Regions from separate parts of the Homo sapiens genome. Here regions 2, 3, 4, 5 and 6 are each linked to region 1. The links are contacts of gene promoters, found by promoter capture Hi-C in blood cells and fetal thymus (Javierre and others, 2016). All regions are on one chromosome and are shown on one strand. Each heading gives the region's core, a stretch centred on a gene start or on the middle of the fragment in contact. The rest is flanking DNA. Distances are from core to core; before and after follow the strand shown.

Region 1 (3,654 bases), core at 170-2,669:
TTCACGCAAAATAACTACTCACTGACCAACAGCTCCACAGTGCCCCCAATCCCAAATTTTGTTCGTAGCATTCAGATTGCTGACTTTTATTCACGGGTCACTCCCTTCCTAGCAGCCTTTTTAATTGGAGGTCTTAGAGGTGGGGCCCAAGCTGTCTTGGTCCATTCATAATCATTCTCGGCAATCTCTTCTAATGGGTGTTCCTACAACTCTGCTATTTACACTAGCATATTCATATTACAGTTTTAATGCAATAGTGCGTTTGAACGGTTTTACGTTTGGAATATAACTGCTCCTACTACACTGTGACCAGTTCTCACGTTTAGCTTATACAGTATTTGTTGAAAGCTGCTCTATCAACGTTATATAACATTTGTTCTCCATCCAATTACCCCTAACTCCTAGAAAAAATATTTTTAAAATTTCCCAGACTCCACGACTACTTTCTCATACTCAGTAAACTTTCCACACATGCATCAACGTTGTCAACTAATCAAACCGGTGCAAAAAAAAAAGATAGCACTGAAACGGATAACGAAGGGTAGTGTCGTTTGCCTTCTTGGTGCCTGGGGCAGTCCCAAAAACAAAAGAGGGGCTCGGTTAGGGTGGCATGTTTAGTCGGAGGAGCACACGGCTTCGCTTGTCTCAGGAAAAGCAATTAACTAGATAAACTAGGGCGATTATACCAAAAACACAAGAAGCGTCTCTTCTCCTCTTCCAAGAGCTGATATAAAGGGCAAAGGCCCATGTGTTGGGAGACTTAATGGGAGGCTGGGGGAAAGGAGGTATGATGGAAGAGCCGTGGGTTCTCCTGGGCAGAAAGGGAAAGTAAACGTAGTTAGTGCACAGCGCAGCTCTGGCAGCTGTTGAAAATGGAAAGAGAGGGGCAGGATCGGTGGCCTCCCCGGGCTATTACCCCACAAGGCGAGGGCCGGCACAGCTGTTTCCCCAAGTCTGGGTCGGGCTGCTCCAGGACGTCCAGGAGTCGGTTCCTCCCCACAGGCGCGGCCTGCGAGGGGCAGACGCACCCGCCCGGGTTCCGGCACTCACCCCCGCAATCTCCTCGGCCGAACATTCCAGCAAGCTCCGGTCGATGGCCTGCACCTCTGGCTCTAGCTCCGACGCCATCTTCTCTCCTCCTCCTCCCCAGCGCTACCGCCGCCCGGAGAGCTGCAGCCTCACCTCGGCCCCGGCGGCCTCGACTGCCACCCCTGCCCCAGGCAATCAGTCCCGGAGCCGTCCAAGTGGCTGCAGGTGGAGCAACAGAGGGAGAGAAGGGTGACGTGAACCGGAAAGGAAGGACAGCGGCCTCCTGCGCTCCCTCCCAAGCTTAGCGCCCAAGAGTCAAGTCACTGGCTCGTCCCTGACCCAGGGAAGGACACAGAAAACCCCAGGCCTGACACTCTCGCTGGCCACTACCGCGTCCTGCACCAGGAAAGGGGCAATAACACCCAGGAGGGGAAGCGGAGCTTTCTGGGTACTGTAGTTCTGGGTGCTGTAGGTACAGCACAGCCGGGAAAAAGGTGGCGCCCTAACACGGTGCCCCTCGAATGCATTGTGGGAGTTGTAGTCCATTCTCAAGGGGCGCTGGCTTAAATGGCAGATAAGCGGGCGGGGCTTTTCTGCCCAACGAGAATCATGGGAAGACAGTCGCGGAAAGCAGCGCCCCCTGGAAAAAAGCCAAAGAGAAAGATACTGTGGGAACTGTAGTTTTATTCTCCGAATCTCGTTTGTTCATTTTTGTATCCCCAGCTTCAAGAACACTGCCTGGCACATGGTAGACCCTCAAGGACTTGCCAGTCTGGCATAGGGTAGGCACTCAAATACTTGTCAAAGGAATGAATGAATTACATTCTATTCCTGTGGTTCTATGTCCTGTCATCCATCGAACCCATATCTTTTATACGAGTAATGGAGGTGAACATTACCCACTTTTTTGAAGGTTTAAAACATGTTTTAAAAAATTTTTCAAAAACTTTAGTGATGACCACTTATAAACTTTATCACAAATCTTGCTGCAAAGGAAAAAGAGTCTATTAGGCCAATTAAAAGATTTCCTCTTGATAGAGACATTTAATTTCTACAGATAATCAGACCAAGCTTGGTGGCTCATGCCTGTAATTCCAGCACTTTGGGAGGCCGAGGGGGGCAGACTACTTGAGCCCAGGAGTTTGAGACCAGTTTGGACAACATAGCGAGACCCTCTTGATAAAAATCAAAAAATTAGCCAGGTGTGGTGGCACGCCTGTAGTCCCAGCTACTCGGGAAGCTGAGGCAGGAGGATTGCTTGAGCCCAGGCAGTTGAGGCCATCGTGAGCTGTGATCAGCCCACTGCACTCCAGCCTGCGTGACACAGCTGAGACCCTGTATCAAAAAAGAAGGAAAAAAAAAAAAAAGAAATAGGTAAACATTGTTAGACTAGCTATCAAAGAAAACTATGTTTAGTTAAAGGTAATTAGACTCTTGACTGACAGCTGGGTGACTGGGCTTCTTAGAAGTCTTCAGTCTCTAGAGTTTGTCAGAAAATTGTTTATACCTTTTGTCAAGTGTGTTAATTTATTCCCAGAAGTAGGTTGTAAATTACATATAGGGGGGAAAAGTTCTGAGCCAGACCAGGTTTAGGACATGTTTATGTTTATGTTGTTTTGGGATTTTTTTTAAACCAATACTATGATATTAACCAGTTTTTTAAAAAAGGAAATAAGAAACTGCCTGTATCCCTGTAACCTCACAATACAAGTAAGCCTTCTTATCACTTTTTAAAAGTTATATATATATATACATATAAAACATCAGAAATTCAAACTCGAAAGGAATGTTTTAAAAAAGGAAAATTGAAAACTTCCTATTCCTCTTACCCCAAGTCCCTCTCCCCAAAGAAAATCATTTTTGACACTGTCTTATGAGTCTGTCCAGAAAAAAGTATGCACATATCTGTACAGATATTTATAATGAGATATCTTGAAATATTCTTCTATGTATTTTTCTTTTTTTGCCCAACTTCCTTACACTGATCCACTCAGGACAGAGTCAACTTGGAAGAAAACTGGGATTGTCCCAGCCTAGAAGCAAAAACAACATCTCTTGAGCTGTCCTAACATAGAATTTAAGTCGTTAATAGACTGTAAAGGCAATTTCTGTTCTTAACATTATTTGCTTCCTAACATTATTTGTTTCAGGCCGAGCATTGTGGCTCACACCTGTAATACCAAAACTTTGGGAGGCCAAGATTGGAGGATAACTTGAGGCCAGGAGTTTGAGACCAGCCTGGGCAACATAGCAAGACCCCATCTCTACAAAAAAATTTAAAAATTAGCCGAACATGGTGGCCCATGTCTGTAGTCCTAGCTACTTTGGGAGGCTGAGACAGGAAAGATCACTTGAGCCTAGGAGTTCAAGCCTGTAGTGAGCTATGACTGTATCACTGAACTCTAACCTGGGTGAAAGAATGAGAGCCTGACTCAAAAAAAAATTGTTTCCCTTGTGTGTCATAATTATGAATTTGGAGATCATCTTCACTTAGCATTAGTAGCATTAGCAGTGGGACTCTCCATGTATTAATACTTTCAAAATACTTTTTCATTTGCTTCTGCAAGGCCAGACAACCTAGAAAACATCGTATACTCAGGACCAGGCACTCTAGGAGTATCCTGT
Region 2 (3,743 bases), core at 954-3,453, 340 kb after region 1:
TAATAAAAAGGAAAACATTTTTAAATAGTGGTTGTGATTGCTTCCTGTTCTGGCTTCGTTATGTTCTATTCTCAGCAGATGAATTGCATGCCTTCCATATCAGGATGTAATTTATTCAGGTTTGCACTATTATAAGTTGACATCATAATATCTAGTGTGCTTAACTGTATTTTCCCGGAATGCAAGTCCCTTGGTCCATATTAAAGCACTATGTATAGCATATTCATAATTTTTCTTTTGTAACGTGTGTATTTTTAATAAGGATTTTATGTAACATTTTGGCAACAAGAGGACCGTATTTTCTAGTGAATTTTATAATAACATTTTGCTAAAAATGTTTCTTCCTAGGTCAGTTTTTGTTAAGGTGAACCAAAAGTCTTATTTTACCAGGGGTTTAAAAAAAGTTTGAAGCTTGAAAGCAAAGTTATATTTAAACATCATATGTAACAAATAAATAAAGATGTTTTATAGACTTGTCCTAAAAAGGTGCATTCCTTAAAAAAAAAAAAAAGAAAAAAAAAGGAAACTGGGGCATTCTAGGTTGTTTCCCCTCCAAGTGATAAGCTTTTTTTTTTTCTTAATTATCACAATGCTTCTTCAAAAAGGGAACCAGGGAAATTTTATTTAACACATTCTAATCATTAGCCTCTCAGAAAGTTATTACAGTTCCTATAGATGGGCATTCATCAAATGGAGATGTAACCAAACAGACACTGTCATATTTATTTGTGAAAACCTGATTCAATATTGCATCAGCTGCTCTGAAAATAAAATATTAATCTTTTGCGTTTCGTTTGGCTTAAATATTTCTTCTTTCTAGCCATTGCTATGACTTCTCAATGCTGGATAAATGCTAGTTTACCTGTTAATTGGTTTCCGTAGACAACAAGTTTAAGTCGGCTGATCAAATTTAATGATCATTATTAAAGTGTCCCCCGACTCCGAAGACCAGGACATACATTTCTGCTATTCAAGCAGTGGATGAACCACTTGGGTTCGTAAACCTTATGACTCAAACTGTGTCATAAACTCAAACTGAGTCATAAACCTTATGACTCAAACTGTGATTCAAGGGAGCACACTGTGACATACAGGTGTCTTACACTAAATCCTCCACAAAGTCTTAAGTCCACCCCGATTTATTTGCATTTTAAATCTGAATTTCCAAATTTGAGTAAGTAAGTTTACTTTTTTTTTTTTGACAGTCTTGCTTTGTTCCCCAGCCTGGAGTGCAGTGGCACGATCTTGGCTCACTGAAGCCTCCACTCCTGGGTTCAAGCAATTCTCACGGGTCAGCTCCTCTAAGTCCACCCCGATTTATTTGCATTTTAAACCTGCATTTTCAAATTTGAGTAAGTATGTTTACTTTTTTTTTTTTGAGACAGAGCCTTGCTTTGTTCCCCAGCCTGGAGTGCAGTGGCATGATCTCAGCTCACTGAAGCCTCCACTCCTGGGTTCAAGCAATTCTCACGGGTCAGCCTCCCAAGTAGCTGGGACTATACAGGTCATGCACCACCACACCTGGCTAATTTTTGTATTTTATTAGAGGCGAGGTTTCGCCATGTTAGCCAGGCTGGTCTCGAACCCCTGGCCTCAAGAGATCCGTCTGAGGCCCGCCTCGGCCTTCCAAAGTGCTGGGATTACAGGTGTGAGCCACTGCACCTGGCTGTATGTTTACTTTTTTTTTTTTTTTTTTTTGAGACAGAGTCTCCCTCTGTCACCCAGGCTGGAGTGCAGTGGTGTGATCTCAGCTCACTGCAAGCTCTGCCTCCCGGGTTGATGCCATTCTCCTGCCTCAGCCTCCCGAGTAGCTGGGACTACAGGCGCCCGCCACCACACCCTGGCTAATTTTTTGTATTTTTAGTAGGGACGGGATTTCACCTTGTTAGCCAGGATGGTCTCGATCTCCTGACCTCATGATCCACCCGCCTCGGCCTCCCAAAGTGCTGGGATTACAGGCGTGATGTATGTTTACTTTTCATGGTCAACAGAAAACTATAGAAGAACTTTCAAATTCTGGATTTCATACAGAAGTTTACAGAATTTTACAAAAATAAATTTGCTTTAAGTGGGGAATGCCTATTCAAGACCTTGATCTAGATTCTTTTGGAGGGTGGGGGGGGTGGGGAAGGGGGGTTGTTGTTGTTTTTAAACTAATAGAGACAGGGTCTCACTATGTTGGCCAGGCTGATGTTGATCTCCTGGCCTCAAGCAATCCTTCTGCCTTGGCCTCCTGAAGTGCTAGGATTATAGACATGAGCCACTGCACCTGGCCTCTTTTGGATTTTTTTTGTTTTTGAGACGGAGTCTCACTGTCGCTCAGGCTGGAGTGCAGTGGCGCGATTTGGGCTCACTGCAACCTCCACCTCCCGAGTTCAAGGGATTCTCCTGCCTCAGCCTCCCGAGTAGCTGGGACTACAGACCACCACGCCTGGTTAATTTTTTTTTTTTTTTTTTTTTTTTTTTAGTAGAGATGGGTTTCACCGTGTTAGCCAGGATGGCCTGGATCTCCTGACCTCATGATCCACCCACCTTGGCCTCCCAAAGTGCTGAGATTACAGGTGTGAGCCACTGCGCCTGGCCTTTTTTGGTTTTTGACTTTAATTTTAGCTGTTTACTTTAGACAACCTATACCAAATAAAATAGCTATTCCTCTAGAAACTGTGTGCCTTAGCCAGTGCTGTAAATTTAAAGTCTACTTCTGGAGGCCTAATTGGAAGATTTTTTTCTACTTTTATTCAGTCAGTCGATCCTCATGAGCCACCATTATTCCATACTGTATTATACAGGGGGAGGAGAGTGTATAAAGATGGCTGTACATGATTCCTTCCTGCCAAGGAATTTAATACCTAGAAAGACATATGGGGGCCTTGGAACAGATTCAATTCCAGGATTGAGAAGAGACCTATCAATATTCGGAATCCTCTCACCATCACCCACATGTACACAGCAATTTATAGCGGGTGCTCAGCAACTATTTGTTCAATGAGTTAACTCGCCAGTCCTCCAGGTACGCTCATCCATGTGTGCATTTGGCAGAGAGAGAATGTGTGTGTAAATCCTGAATTCCATTTACTCCCTATCTACCATCCTCAGCCACCGCCAGCGAGCTGAGATGTGCTCTAGGAATGTGGATGAGAGTTCATGTTGACACAGCAAAGCATAATTAGGAAGACATTTTAAGAAATTGAATAATATATTCCTAAGAGAACCATAAGTGATCTTTGAATTGTAGATATCCCTGTGTAAAGGAGCCAAAGGGCCAGTCGTGATGGCTCACTCCTGTAATCCCAGCACTTCGGGAGGCCGCGGCGGGTAGATCACCTGAGGTCAGGAGTTTGAGACCAGCCTGACCAACATGGAGAAACCCTGTCTCTACTAAAAATACAAAAATTAGCCAGGCATAATGGCGCATGCCTGTAATCCCAGCTACTCGGGAGGCTGAGGCAGGAGAATCCCTTGGACCCAAGAGGCAGAGGTTGCAGTGAACCGAGATCAAGCCATTGCACTCCAGCCTGGGCAACAGGAGTGAAACTGTGTCTCAAAAAAACAATAATAATAAAAATAAATATAAAAAAAGGAGCCAAAGAGCTGATTACTTCCTTTATGTACGAGAGGATCTTTTGGAAAGGACTGTCTTTAAAAACAGAACAACTGGCACAATCAAAATATGATTAACTGTAAAATATTTGATGTATCTATGTTTATTTTTTCTGGACATAAAGCAAGGTTTACTTGCATCA
Region 3 (3,648 bases), core at 583-3,082, 320 kb after region 1:
GCACAGTTTCTGGTGTTGAACTCCTATTTTTAATGACAGTAATAATAAAAATACCTTGCGTATACAGCATTCGAAAGCAAAATAAAACTTTCACATAGATGAAATAGCACTTTATACAACAGATAAACTTATTGACTTTATTGGCTGAGAGATGGTTTAGTGTAAAAAATTAAAATCATTCAAAGAGTGTTTCAACAAACTGATGAATGATGGAGCCATATTGTGTTAAAGCCATTTAAGGCTGTTCAGGTACACAAAGAACAGGGCGCAGTTGATAGCACCCACTGGCCCCTGGCTGAGACAGATGGTCCTCGGAGGTGTCCTAGGGTGGCATGTCTCCTGTTGTCAGTCTAGGGCCTTGCCTGGGCAAGTGTGAAAAGCAGGAGGACTTTGTCTCTGACTTGCCTCCGCCTCGCCTCCGCCTCCATCTCTGCATTTGCTCCTGCCTTGCCCTTGGCGGCTGCCATGCCTTTGCTGCCCTGTGTGCCCAGCAGCTCTCATGCTTCATCTTTCTAGAGTCACCCTCCCCTCCAGGACTGGCCTGGCATAGACCTCAATCCTTTAGGCCCCACACTTGCGACTGATGATGGATTCGTGTATTGAGCTTACCAGGCAACCTGGGTTTTAACCCAGGGCTCTCTGGGACGGGCACTGTCCTCACTCCCTCAGGTGATTCTAGTGTGGAAATTCCAGGTGTCAGGGGGATGAGAAGGGGGCAACTTTGAGGAGACAGGACTGGGTGCCCCTCTCATCTCACCATGTAGGTGGCCTTGTTCCCACCCTCAAGGGTAAGGCCAGCCTTTAATCTGCCTCCAGCAAACCCACGTTATTACACCTCACCTGATCATACAGCATATGAACTAAACAAAGGAATGTTTCTGTCTTAAGATGCATAGACCTTTGCCTGTTTGGGGTTGAATAGGGCAAGGCCCATTTCCTGCAAAACCTAAGCTCTGTCATCATAACTTTTGCCTTATATTCCTATTCCATTACTAAGGAACATTTCTCATAAGCATATTTTGAAGGTCAAGTTAGAGACATTCAAGCATATTAAATGAAAAAGCAGCTGCTTTATGGGTTAAAAAAATGAGTAAGTCTGTAAGGACTGATCTGAAAAAATTTCCAAGCTATATTGAGAAAAAAATCAAGTTGCAAAGCAGTATTTATAGTGTGCTCCCTTTTGTGAGGAAAGATGGTGGGGGAGGGAATATATTTTTGTGTGTGCTGGTACATGCATTAGAAAATTCTGGAGGCCAGGCACAGTGGCTCACACCTGTAATCCCAGCACTTTGGGAGGCCAAGGCAGGCGGATCACCTGAGGTCGGGAGTTCGAGACCAGCCTGACCAACATGTAGAAACCACGTCTCTACTAAAAATACAAAATTAACTGGGCGTGGTGGTGCATGCCTGTAATCCCAGCTACTCAGGAGGCTGAGGCAGGAGAATCGCTTGAACCCAGGAGGTGGAGGTTGTGGTGAGCCGAGATCGTGCCATTGCACTCCAGCCTGGGCAACGAGAGTGAAACTCCATCTCAAAAAAAGAAAAAAATTCTGGAATGGGTGTTGTGACTCAATGCCTGTAATGCCAGCAATTTGGGAGGCCCAGGCAGGAGGATCACTTGAGGTCAGGAGTTCGAGACTAGCCTGGCCAACATGGTGAAACCCCATCTCTACTAAAAATAGAAAAAAATGAGCCAGGTGCGGTGGCGGGTGCCTGTAATCCCAGCTACTTGGGAGGCTAAGGCAGGAGAATTGCTTGAATCTCGGAGGTGGAGGTTGCAGTGAGCCAAGATGGTGCCACTGCACTCCAGCCTCGGCAACAGAGCAAGACTCCATCTCAAAAAAAAAAAAAAAAAGGCTGGGCGCAGTGACTCACGCCCGTAATCCCAGTGCTTTGGGAGGCCGAGGTGGGCGGATCACGAGGTCAGGAGATCAAGACCATCCTGGCTAACACAATGAAACCCCGTCTCTACTAAAAATACAAAAAATTAGCCGGGCATGGTGGCGGATGCCTGTAGTCCCAGCTACTCGGGAGGCTGAGGCAGGAGAATGGTGTGAACCTGGGAGGCAGAGGTTGCAGTGATCCGAGATTGCGCCACTGCACTCCAGCCTGGGCGACAGAGCAAGACTCCGTCTCAAAAAAAAAAAAAAAATCTGGAATGGTAGCCAAAGAAATTAATGCAAGGGGCTACCTGTGTTGCAGGGTGAGGGGTAAGGACAGGCGTGTGAAGGAGGCCTTTCACCAGGTACATTTTTTTCTTGAACTGTACAAACTTGTTTATTACCCTATTACAAAATTAAATATTCAAAAATGCTTGCTACCTTTGCTCTCTGCCCATTGCTGGAGCTAACCTTGAGTTCGCTTTCCCGGCAGGTGAAGTCCAAGACGGTGGCTCAGTGCGTGGAGTACTACTACACGTGGAAAAAGATCATGCGGCTGGGGCGGAAACACCGGACACGCCTGGCAGAAATCATCGACGATTGTGTGGTGAGTGAAGCTGCTAAGTTGTTGCTTGTGCTGGGACAGCTCCCACCCCAGGCCCAGGTTAGTAAGTAGCTGGTGTTTGGTTTGGCTTTGCTGCCAAGATAGCCAGAGGAAGGAGGTGACAACAGCCCAGCTCTCCTGCAGGATTCAGGACCTACCCTCCTGAGTAGGTTTAAAGGAAAGAAGTCCATAGGTTTGGCCTGTAGCTCAGTGTTCAGAAACAGAGGTGAGGGCTGGTGCCCGCTTCAAGGCAGCTAGGAGCCAGAAGAATTAAACCAAGGATGGTCCCAGCCTTGGGTTTGTTGGTTTATGATTGGGTGGTGTCCTGACCCCCTGGAATATTCTTTTTTGATCTTTCCATGTCATAGATGCTACTGACCTGAGCCCATAATGTGCCTCAGAAAGGGTCCCTGGGATTTTGCCACAGTCTGTAAAGCATGAGCAAGAGGAGCTTTGACCTCTAGGTAGTGCCAGGAACCCTCCATCATTAAGGAACTAATTCGCTGCATGTAGATGATTCTAATCCTTACATCACCATTATCCCTGGTATTGATTTCCTTCATTAGCAGACAGTCCACAGTCAACTGCACATTAAGTACGTACCAAAGACACAAGAAGACCTAACTAGTCTCTGAACCCTGTATGTGTGGCTTTGATGATTACTATCACTTGTGATCCTTGCAATTAACTCTCCACCCTGCATCCATAGCCATGGGAAATCTCCTTTTCACACTCTGTGGAAAACATTACCTACCATATATGTGTATATAAAAATTATGTCTGACATTACTAAACTCTAGCTTTTGTCACCATCAGTGAAAGTATTGGGAATTCATGAATTATGTAAATATTTGAAATTATATTTTCATTCCCAATTGTGCCCCAGTTGTAAGGGTTAGCACATGTATGTGTGTTATTTTCTTTAACAGACAGTGAAACAGCAGTTTTCATGTGCCAGGCATTGTGTTAGGGACTTTATAAATATTGACTCATTTAATCCAATGTAATTCATTTAATACCAATTCTATGCAGTAGGAAACTGAAGCACAGAGCTTAAGCAAATTGGCCATAGTCACACAGCTGCTGAGCGTGTTGTTAAGCCTGATTCCCTTGTGTAGTTAAGAGCAGTCAGATGCAAATTTTCTTTTGTTTGTTTGAGACAGG
Region 4 (3,520 bases), core at 555-3,054, 300 kb after region 1:
ACTCAGTAAGCACTCAATAATTGTTAGCTATTATGATTGTTACTTTACAGATGAGAAAACTGAGGCTCAAAGAGCTTAAGGTTACATATCAAGTAACAATGCTGGGATTGACTGCAAAGCCCATGTTCTGTCCACTGTGCATTCATTCAGTATTTATTGAGTGCCTACTGTGTGCCAAGCATAGAGCTAGGTTTTGAGAATGCAGCAGTGAACAGTACAGACTTGCTTCCTCATCCCATGGGCATGGTCAATAAAGATTTAGCCAAACCTGATAAACTGCTGAAGCGTGCAGTACGGCGGCTGCCCCAGGAACTTGCACAAATGTCTCTAAGTGGGGAGGCTTTTGGAGGAGCTGGGCTCAGGCTGACCCTGGAAGGGTAATAAGCTATCGTTCCCAAGTCAAAATCCATTGCCTGAAGCCTTGGTATGAAGAAGGACATTTTGTTCAATTCTTGCATGACTTTGAGAAGGCCTTTTCCCACTCTGGAGCCTCAGTTTTTCATCTATAAATTGAACTTTGTTCTCTAAAGGGCACTGGGGTGATACAAGTGGTGCCATGGACAATGGGATCATTGGATGAATGAAATGGGTTTGTGGTGGGTATGAGGTCTTGTGGCAAGTCACTGTTTCCCCTTCCTCAACGTATGTGTCCTCTCCATTTGACTCTTCCCTTGAGCAGTGGCCAACCCAAAGGAGCGTTTGGGGAGCAGTTTGATGCCAAGAACAAGCTGACATGCTCCATCTGCCTGAAGGAGTTCAAGAACCTGCCTGCCCTGAATGGCCACATGCGGTCCCACGGGGGAATGAGGGCCTCCCCCAACCTCAAACAGGTTAGCAGGAGCCAGTTCCCGGTCCTTTCTAGGTCGTGTGCTGCTTGCTTTGCTTTGCTGCCGTCAGACAGAGAGTGATGTGAGCCCCATGCGGGACCTGGCGAGGCACAGTCCTCCCTTGACAGGAATGCTTAGGCTTTGGCGCTGGGAGCCAGCCAGGTCAAGCAGCCCCACTTCCCCAGCTTTATGATGAGCAAGGGTCAAAATCAGAGGCGCTAGAAAGCCTTTTAGGGCATCCCAGCTTCTCTCTCTGCCTCCTGGAGAAGACAGCAAAGGAAAACATGTAAATGCAATATTATTTTTAAACTTCTGCTGCTTGACACACCCAAGACCAGGCCCACTGGGGCCTTCCAGATTAGTGGTCAATTGCCAGAGAAAGCTAATATAATCATCAGGCTCTCAGCCAGAATTTTCTATTTACTGATGCAGTGGTGTTCAGCTCAACATCCAAAGATCCTTAAATACCCTCTGGATTATCCAGGTAGGATATCCAGATAGTAAACTATCCACAAATTTTAGAGTTAGATTAAAATCAAAAAATTTTCTCAGAATTATTTTAATATTGTTACTCTTAATTTAAATCTATGGGATTAAATCTCTGTTGAACAGAATTTTTGATTACCCAGATCACTCCATCTCCTGGCCATGCCAGATTATGTTTTTTAAAAAAGCTTTTGTCTTTACTTGTTAAAAGTACATGTTTTGTATCTCCAGTGTGGTTTCCTGACCTGAATAAAATTTAGGATGGAATGCCTATTTCCATTTGACAAATGAGTGAACTAAGGCCCATAGAATTAAAAACTCCTACACAAGATCGTACCTTCTTTTGGACTGATTACAAGTCCGTGTCCCTTTCTTTAAAAGCATGACAACCACACAATTTTTTTAAAATAGTTTAATACACAAGTAATGCATGGTCAAGAATTTTTAACTGTAAAAAATGGAGTCCAGCCTCTTCCACCATCAGCTGGCATCACTCCAGCCAAGGGACTCAGGATTGCAGGAAGGAAATCGCCCTGCAGCGGTTCTCTATCACCCATACCTGATGTCCTGGAACCTTTCGGGAAAAGCAAAGTGCATCCCCCTTGTGAGAGCTGCTCTCAGCCCAGGATCAAAGCCTTTATTGTCTGTGTAGGAGGAAGGAGAGAAGGTCCTGCCGCCTCAGCCCCAGCCACCACTGCCGCCTCCGCCTCCGCCTCCGCCGCCACCACAGCTCCCTCCCGAGGCAGAAAGCCTCACGCCTATGGTCATGCCCGTGTCTGTCCCTGTCAAGCTTCTCCCGCCCAAGCCCAGCTCTCAGGGGTTCACCAACAGCACCGTTGCCGCCCCCTCCGCCAGAGACAAGCCAGCCAGCTCGATGTCGGACGACGAGATGCCTGTGCTCGTGAGGATGACCCTCTCTCCCCCACACTCACCCCAAGGGGCTGCCCCCCGCACGCCTGCTGTGAGTTGCTGCTCTGCCCCACCTGCCTGGGTGGGGACATCCCTTTGCTTTCTTGGAGATGGGGCGGCCCTTCCAGAGTCACTGACCTGAGCTTGGATACGGCTTGGTCTCTCAGGGCTGAACCCGTGGCCACATTGGGAACCCTACCCTTGTTCACACTGCCTGCTCCCCATTAAATGCCAAACTAATGGCCTAGGTTAGATTCTGAGAGACCCGAAAGTGTTCCCAGGTTTAAACAGAGACGATCATTCAGCTGGGAGTCACTGAGACAATCATAGCCATTATTGAAATATGGAAGTCCTGTATCCCAGAAAGTAAGCAGCTGTTGCCCCAGGCCCTGGCCCCTTCCCCAGGATCTCCAGACCTCCCAAATCCACAACCAAAGAGGTAACCACTGGCGCAGCAGGCTTCCAGGCAATAGCCCTGGCATCCATTCTGACAAGCAGCCTTACCAGTTGCTTAATATTTTTGTCTGCTTAAATACCCTGGAGAACCTAATTCGTTAAAGTTCCCAAAGTAGTTCCACTGAGAGCCACCCACCCCTAATCTCAGGAAAGCAAAGAGATTTGTTTTTCTCACTCACTGTTCTCCTTTCTCCAATTTTAAGTGCTTCACTCAAACAGCTTAATTTGCCTCTGGGAAGGGTTTCCGTCTGTCTGTCTCTCTCTCTCTCTCTCTCTCTCTCTCTCTCTCTCTCTCTCTCTCTCTCTCTCTCTCTCTCTCTCTCTCTCTCTCTCTCTCTCTCTCTCTCTCTCTCTCTCTCTCTCTCTCTCTCTCTCTCTCTCTCTCTCTCCTCTCTCTCTCTCTCTCTCTCTCTCTCTCTCTGCCCCTAGGGAATTTGTGACCTGTGTGGTTGGCAATATCAAACCTACCCCCTCCCCACAAAGTGGCATGTTGGGTCATATTTGTCCTTAGGAATAGGTAGCTGCTGGGAATCCAGGAGGCATAAGGGTAGGCTGGGCCAGGGTAGAGGGAGAGAAGATAATGAATACAACTAGAAAAGTACAGAAAAAAACCTTTATGGTGTAATATCAAGTCCTCAAAAGAAGAGAAACTGATGGAGAACTGGGGGGAAGATTCTCATAAGCCGTCAGGACTTGGGGGTCAGCAACAGGCAGAGAGATGAAATGACACATCCAAGCTCCCTCTTTGCCCAGGGAAGTTCGTGCTTTGGCAGGAGAAACAGTGTTTCCTTGGGGAAATAGTTCCCTTGGGGAACTCTCAATTAAGAGTTCATAGTCACATG
Region 5 (3,340 bases), core at 261-2,760, 270 kb after region 1:
CAGACAGATAGATAGATAGATATTTTTAGAGACAGGGTCTTGCTCTCTTGCCCAGGCTAGCTTCAAACTCCTGGGCTCAAATGATACTCTCACCTCCTCCTCCCGAGGAGCTACCTTAGCTTTTTTTGTTTGTTTGTTTTTTGTTTTGTTTCGTTTTGTTTTTGAGACGGAATCTCTCTCTGTTTCCCAGTCTGAAGTACAGTGACACAATCTTGGCTCCCTGCAACCTGCACCTCCTGGGCTCAAGCAGTTCTCCTGCCTGAGTCTCCTGAGTAGCTGGGACTACAGGCGTCTGCTACCACGCCTGGCTAATTTTTGTATTTTTAGTAGAGATGGGATTTCACCATGTTGGCCAGGCTGGTCTCAAATTCCTGACCTCAGGTGATCCACCCGTCTCGGCCTCCCAAAGTGCTGGGATTACAGGCATGAGCCACCGTGCCCCACCAATTTTTGTATTTTAAGTAGAAACAGGGTTTTACCCTGTTGGCCAGGCTGGTCTCGAACTCCTGACCTCCAGTGATCCACCCACTTCAGCCTCCCAAAGTGCTGGCATTACAGGCGTGAGCCACCACCCTCAACCTATTTTACGTTTTCATCTCTTTGTCTCTCTGTGCTGAACTCTGAATAATTTATTCAAATCTATCTTCTGGCCGGGGGAATAGCTCATACCTGTAATCCCAGCACTTTGGGAGGCCTTGGTGGGTGGATCACCTGAAGTCAGAAGTTCAAGACCAGCCTGGCCAACATGGTGAAACCCCATCTCTACTAAAAATAAAAAAATTGGCCAGGTGTGGTGGCGCGCACCTATAATCCCAGCTACTCTGGAGGCTGAGGCACAAGAATCACTTGAACCCTGGAGGTGGAGGTTGCTGTGAGTTGAGACCATACCACTGCACTCCAGCCTGGGTGACAGAGCCAGACTTTGTCTCAAAAAAAACAAAAACAAAAACAAAAACAAAAAAAAACAACAACTATCTTCTATTTAACTAATTTATTATGTGTCTAAAATGCTCTTTAACCCATTCATTGGATTTTTTCTTTTTGCTTTATTTATTTGTCATTTCTAGAAGTTCTGCTTGGTGATTTTTCTGGTCTCTCATTTCTTGCTCATATTTGAAGATGTTTATTTCTTTAAAATATTAAATTTGCTATTTAGAAATTTTATAATTTTGTGTCTTGTAATTCCCAAATCTGAAGTTCTTGCAGGTCTGGTTCTGCCACTTGTTGTTTCTGCTGGCTGGTATTCATAATGCCTTGTTTCCTGTGAATTGCTCATTTTTTCTTGGCACTTTATCTTAGGGAATTATCTGAGGTGTGGGTTGAGTTGTCTTTTCCAGAGAGGATTTGGTTAACTTCTGCTGGTTGTCTGGTGGGCATTACCAACAAAAATCACTTTAAATTAATTTTCTAGTTAAGGCTTTTCTGGCTACCCAAGTAATATAATTCAGGCTACAAACCTGTGTGAAGTCCAGCTATGGTTACACATTTTCAGCAGAGAGATTTTCCCCCCATTCTGCTCAGCCCTTGCAAGGTCCAGTTTTCTTGCAGTCTCTGTGTTGTGCATTTACTTCTCATTCACCAAGTCGAATGAATTTTGTGGAGTGGAGCCATTTGAAGTCCCAACTTTGTGGAGGGGTCTCCCTAGGCTCTTAACCCTGTGCTGCTGTCATTGGGAAACTTAGAATCTCCAGGTTTCAGCAGAAACCCTCAGGGCAAAAGCCAGCTTTGATGCCAGCTCACCTTCCAAGGTTCCTGCTTTGGGTTTGTTTTGGTCTTTTCATTTGTACTATCTCAGCAATGTGTATTCAGTCTTTATATCTAAAATTGTATCCAGCATATTAGTTCTTTCCATTAGGAGGGGCAAGTAAGGTATCCGGTCTGCCATATTGCCAAAAGTATATCTTTTTCTTCTCCACAATAGTCAGGAGGGCAGGAATTTCTATTTCTTCACAGAAGAGTGACCTGAAGCTCAGAGAGGGTGTAGCCATAGGCCTAGCAGGTGAAAGGCTGGGAGAGAATATGTCCCTCTCCTCTCCTCTCTCCCCACGATAACTGTTGACCATTGGCAAGGACAAACTTTAGTCCCACAAAGAATATGAGTTGCTACCAAAATGTTTTAACTAGCTGAACAGCTTTGTACAATTTGTTTATGAATCTATTGTTTATCTTCCTTGAGGGAGGAAATGGCTTCTCCATATTTTGTGGCTTGTTTGTCTGGCAGTCACCAGCAGCCCTCCTGCTTCATTCCCATTCTGCAAAAAGTCTCCTGAACCTGAAGCCAGATCCCGTGGGCTTCTCATCCAGACCTTGGCTTCCTTTCCTCCTTATGCTACTCTCTCCTTCTCACCTTCTTCCCTTCCCTCTGCCTCTTTTTCCTTTTCCCCTCTCCCCATCCTTCCTGCGATTGGTTTTTCTTTTTCATGGTGGCGTGCCTTTCATTGGAGGGGAGTCTACAGAGCACAGTGGTTTGGCTTTTGGGCTTTGAGGGGCAGGGAGAAAGAGCTGAGTTTGAACCTACCTCTGCCACTTAACAGCTGAATCTCTCTGAGCTTCCGTTTCTTCATTGGTCACATGGGGACAGTGGATAGAGCTATTCAAGGACTTAATGAAATGATGCCTGTAGAGCTTGTAACACAGAGCTTGGATATCATCAGTGCTTGGTCAGTGGTGGTTCATATAACTATGACTGAGAACAGACCACTTCAAGGCCAGTGTTCTTGTTGGTGATGCTTTTAAATTGACAAAGCCAGTTTATAAAATGAGATTAAAATGGAGGCAGAAATCTAATGTAAATGTGGGAATCCCAGCCTCTTTATGATGTTCTTTGAACTGGGGTGTTTTTAAAAATAATCTGAGGGAAGATAGAACGCACTGGTCTGGCCAGTGTTTGTGGAAGATGTAAACCAGGGGTTCTGAAAATGGGGCCTAGACCTCCACACTCCATATCTTGGCCCTCCCGCTGAGCTGTGCCCTGTGTCCTGGTGCCGTGGTGGGGCTGGGGCTGCGTGGACTCACTGTGGAGGTTTCCCTTGCAGGGCCCCCAGATCAAGGGATGGCATTACTGCTCTGAGGACACATTTTCAGCAGTGATGGGGCTGGGGGAGAAGGGTCGTGAATGTCCTTTAGCTCTATTCTTATAGCTGGCATGAGACTTCACTTTTCACGCCCTCTTGTAATAAATGGCTTTATATTACACCTAGACATGTGTCGTTTCCTGATTTGATATCTATCAGGCAACAAGTCTTTTTTTCAAAGCCTGCTATTTATAGTGACTCTGGGCTTTGTATAGTGGGCAAGTACTATAAAAGAATGCATAAAGTTGCTGTGAATCTAAAACTAC
Region 6 (3,600 bases), core at 445-2,944, 390 kb after region 1:
CACTTGGCCATCACAACTGAGGGGGTCCAATCATACCATGAGTGTGCTAACATTTGAGGGCACCTGGGTGGATGCAGAGTCTGTGGGCTTCCAAGATAAGCCTTGAACAGCCAGAGAGAACCCCCTCCTACATTAGCCTGCACCAGTACACAGAGACGTGCACACACATACACACACTCGTACACACTCATCCTGTTCTGGCCACACTCTCATGTTCCTGAAGGTTGCATCTCTCCCTTCTTGAGAGCCCTGAATTCATCCTTCCATCTAATTCTGAGCCTCACATCATCACCATCACCTACTAGGGGCACAGGGCAGGGGACATGGAGTGTGCGCCTGGTGCCCTGGGGTATGTGTGAGTGTGAGAGTGCAGGCACACAGGTGCATGGGTGAGCTGCTACCTGCTGGTCCTGGAAAGCTCCCAGGCCAAGCCTGGGGGCCTGTCTATGCAGCAACAGCTTTCTCTGATGCCTGGTGGGATGCGTACTCCCTAGCCACACACTTAAAAGCTGGCTCATTTATGGAACCAGCATTTGGGTGCAGGTGCACTTAACCTGGATGCTGCCAGGAAAGCTTAAAGCCAGCGCTTGCCCTGCCCTGTCTTTTTCTCTTGTTTGCCTTCCTCCTTTACATATGGGGCACACCCAGGTCTCCTAACTCATCTAGAGGGAACCACTGCCCATATTTCTGCTTTCCCCACCAGGGCCTTGGACACTTGGTCAAGTTGTGCACTGATACACAATTTATATGATTTATATAAATAATATATAATTACATGTAAATAGATTTATATAAATATACAATTTATACAACATATAACATATATCAAATACATGTGCATACATATTTCAGAATGGGCTAGGTTATGCTACAGTAACAAACCACTCTAAAATCTCAGTGGCTGAAAACAATACAAGCTTGTTTCTTGCTTACATTACTGGCTGGGTGACCTTGAGCAAGTAACTTAACCTCTCTGGGCCCCAGTTTCCTCATTCTTAAAATAGGAATAATGGCGCCCATCTGATAGGGCTGTTAAGGGGAGTAAGTGGGGCTGGGCACGGTGGCTCACACCTGTAATCCCAACATTTTGGGAGGCCGAGGCGGGTGGATCACTTGAGGCCAGGAGTACGAGACCAGCCTGGCCAACATGGTGAAACCTCATCTCTATTAAAAATACATAAATTAGCCAGGCGTGATGGTGCACACTCCTGTAATCCCAGCTACTCGGGAGGCTGAGGCAGGAGAATCGCTTGAACCCAGGAGGCGGAGGTTGCAGTGAGCCAAGATCGCACCACTGCACTCCAGCCTGAATGACAAAGCGAGACCCTATCTCAAAAAAAAAAAAAAAAAAGAGTATGTGAGTTAATATAAGAAAAGCATTTAGAACAAGGTCTGCCCCAGAGTAAGTGCCCCATAAATCTTGGCTATGATGTTATGATTTTGTATCTATTACAGCAGCATGTCTGATGTGCTGTTCACTACAATCTAGGTGCACTTATACTGCATCTTGGACACAGCAGCATCCCTGGGTTAGAGCCAATCGTGCTCTTGTCCCTTTAGCCCCATTCACTCTGGGCCCTGGACGGCCAGAAGGGCTATGTGTAGGAACAGACATCCAACCTGCCTCACACAGGCCACCTACCAGCTGTAGTCAGGCCCTAGGGAAGGTGGAGGCCTTTGTTAAAGCCTTACCAGATCCAGGCTCACGCCTGTAATCCCGGCACTTTGGGAGGCTGAGGCGGGTGGATCACAAGGTCAGGAGTTCGAGACCAGCCTGGCCAACATGGTAAAACCCCATCTGTACTAAAAATACAAAAATTAGCCAGGCATGGTGGTGGGCGCCTGTAATTCCAGCTACTTGGGAGGCCGAGGCAGGAGAATCACTTCAACCTGGGAGGCGGAGTTTGCAGTGAGCCGAGACTACGCCATTGCACTCCAGCCTGGGCGACAGAGAGAGACTCCATCTCAAAAAAAAAAAAAAAAATTGTTCATAATGAACATATGTTGCTCACAAAATCAAAGAGGATAGTTATTTTTGAAAAAGAGACAAACTGGGACTGTTTTACCTCTACTCCACATGAATTGATTGACGGAAGGTATATGGGGGTGGGGAGCTGGGTTCTCCCTGCTTCAGTCAGCTTCTCCACAACAAGTTAAGGGACGGGGAGAGAAGGACTCCTTCTGTGAACTTGCTTGGGGCCCAGCTGGAAAATGTGTCCTTGCCGAGGACTCTCAGGCCCAAGATTGGGAAATGAAGAGGTTGGGGACAAGGCAGCCGCTCATCTTTCCCTTTCTATTTAAATCCCTCTCACTCTTCATGTGTGAGTACAAATGCCACCTCCTCTGTGAAGCCTTCCCAAATCTCTCTCAAATATCTTCCTCCCACAGCATACTGACATTTTGCTTATGTGTTGTGACAGTTAATTTTAGGACTGGATGAAGGGATTACCCAACAAGCTGGTAAAGCTTTATTTCTGGGTGTTTCTGTGAGGGTGCTTGCCAAAGAGACTGGCATTTGAATTCATGGACTAAGTAAGGAGAATCTGCCTTCAGCCTATGTGGGTGGGCACCATCCAATTGGCTTAGGCCTGGACAGAAGAAAAAGGCAGGGGAAAGGTGAATTCTCTCCCTCTCTCTCTCTCTCTCTGTCCTGGAGCTGGGACACTCTTCTTCTCCTGCCCTTGGACTCCAGGACTTGCACCAGTAGCAACCCCTCCCCACTCTCACGTTCTCAGTCCTTCAGCTTCAGACCCAGAGTTACACCATCAGTTTCCTTGGCTCTGAACCCTTTGGGCTTGAACTGAGCCATGCTACTGGCTTCCCTGGTTCTCCATCTTGCAGATGGCATATTGTGGGACTTCTCAGCCTCCATAAACATGTGAGCCAATCCCCCTAATAAATCTTCTCTCATACCTCTATATATAATCCTATTAGCTCTGTCTCTCTGAAGAACTCTGGCTAATGTGTGTGTTATATTAGTTTTCTATGTTGCATAACAAATAACCACAAAGTCAGCAGTTTTAAAACTACACACATTTATTATTATTATTATTATTATTATTATTATTATTATTATTATTATTTTGAGATGGAGTTTCACTCTTGTTGCCCAGGCTAGAGTACAATGATGCGATCTCGGCTCAGCACAACCTCCTGCCTCCCAGGTTCAAGCAATTCTCCTGCCTCAGCCTCCTGAGTAGCTGGGATTACAGGCATGTGCCGCCATGCCCCACTAATTTTGTATTTTTAGTAGAGACAGGGTTTCTCCATGTTGGTCAGGGTGGTCTCAAACTCCCGACCTCAGGTGATCCACCTGCCTCAGCCTCCCAAAGTGCTGCGATTACAGGCATGAGCCACCGTGCCTGGCCACACATTTATTATCTCACAGTTTCTATGGGCCAGGAGTCCAGGCACAGCTTAGCTGGTCCTCTGCCTAGCGTCTCACAAGGCTGCTCTCAGGGTGTCACCTGGGCTGTATTTTCATCTGGAGGCTCAACTGGGGAAGAATCCACTTCCAACTTATTCAGGTTGTTGGCAGAACTCATTTTGTTGTGGCTATGTGACAAGGGAGCTGGCTTTTCACTTGACATTGCCTGGGGG

What was found. Contacts are between HindIII fragments. The CHiCAGO score rates a contact against its expected background, and 5 or more counts as called.
Region 2: a fragment that was not itself captured here is called in contact with the fragment with the promoter of UBR2 in region 1 in 7 of 17 cell types (M2 macrophages, endothelial precursors, M1 macrophages and 4 more); the score reaches 7.8 in M2 macrophages.
Region 3: a contact is called between a fragment that was not itself captured here and the fragment with the promoter of UBR2 in region 1, in 4 of 17 cell types (M1 macrophages, M2 macrophages, M0 macrophages and 1 more). The highest score is 6.4, in M1 macrophages.
Region 4: a fragment that was not itself captured here is called in contact with the fragment with the promoter of UBR2 in region 1 in 4 of 17 cell types (M2 macrophages, M0 macrophages, M1 macrophages and 1 more); the score reaches 5.6 in M2 macrophages.
Region 5: a contact is called between a fragment that was not itself captured here and the fragment with the promoter of UBR2 in region 1, in 2 of 17 cell types (M1 macrophages and M2 macrophages). The highest score is 6.7, in M1 macrophages.
Region 6: a fragment that was not itself captured here is called in contact with the fragment with the promoter of UBR2 in region 1 in 1 of 17 cell types (M2 macrophages); the score reaches 5.7 in M2 macrophages.

What each region holds. Positions count from the first base shown.
Region 1 is chr6:42,561,794-42,565,447 of GRCh38, reverse strand. It overlaps UBR2 (ubiquitin protein ligase E3 component n-recognin 2), which reads right to left and starts at 1,419. Exons shown (of 47, transcript NM_001363705.2): 1 at 1,051-1,419. The coding sequence starts at 1,128. RefSeq lists a silencer at 26-155 and enhancers at 1,188-1,707, 1,778-1,857. The HindIII fragment of the contact is 771 bases long and covers 1,332-2,102 here.
Region 2 is chr6:42,221,979-42,225,721 of GRCh38, reverse strand. LOC105375061 (a long non-coding RNA gene) reads right to left here and starts at 983. Exons shown (of 4, transcript XR_001744122.2): 1 at 863-983. It overlaps TRERF1 (transcriptional regulating factor 1), which reads left to right. Exons shown (of 18, transcript NM_001395490.1): 18 at 1-791. RefSeq lists an enhancer at 1,136-1,215. The HindIII fragment of the contact is 3,274 bases long and covers 567-3,743 here.
Region 3 is chr6:42,242,087-42,245,734 of GRCh38, reverse strand. TRERF1 (transcriptional regulating factor 1) reads left to right here. Exons shown (of 18, transcript NM_001395490.1): 15 at 2,374-2,487. Among named protein-coding and RNA genes, the nearest start is that of MRPS10, 26 kb to the right of the region's middle. RefSeq lists an enhancer at 3,283-3,648. The HindIII fragment of the contact is 7,735 bases long and covers 1-3,648 here.
Region 4 is chr6:42,262,014-42,265,533 of GRCh38, reverse strand. TRERF1 (transcriptional regulating factor 1) reads left to right here. Exons shown (of 18, transcript NM_001395490.1): 7 at 680-830; 8 at 1,966-2,214. Among named protein-coding and RNA genes, the nearest start is that of MRPS10, 46 kb to the right of the region's middle. The HindIII fragment of the contact is 602 bases long and covers 1,504-2,105 here.
Region 5 is chr6:42,295,763-42,299,102 of GRCh38, reverse strand. All of the region lies in intron 4 of TRERF1 (transcriptional regulating factor 1), which reads left to right. Among named protein-coding and RNA genes, the nearest start is that of MRPS10, 80 kb to the right of the region's middle. The HindIII fragment of the contact is 9,654 bases long and covers 1-3,340 here.
Region 6 is chr6:42,169,399-42,172,998 of GRCh38, reverse strand. All of the region lies in intron 1 of GUCA1ANB-GUCA1A (GUCA1ANB-GUCA1A readthrough), which reads right to left. Among named protein-coding and RNA genes, the nearest start is that of GUCA1A, 2.2 kb to the left of the region's middle. The HindIII fragment of the contact is 1,549 bases long and covers 920-2,468 here.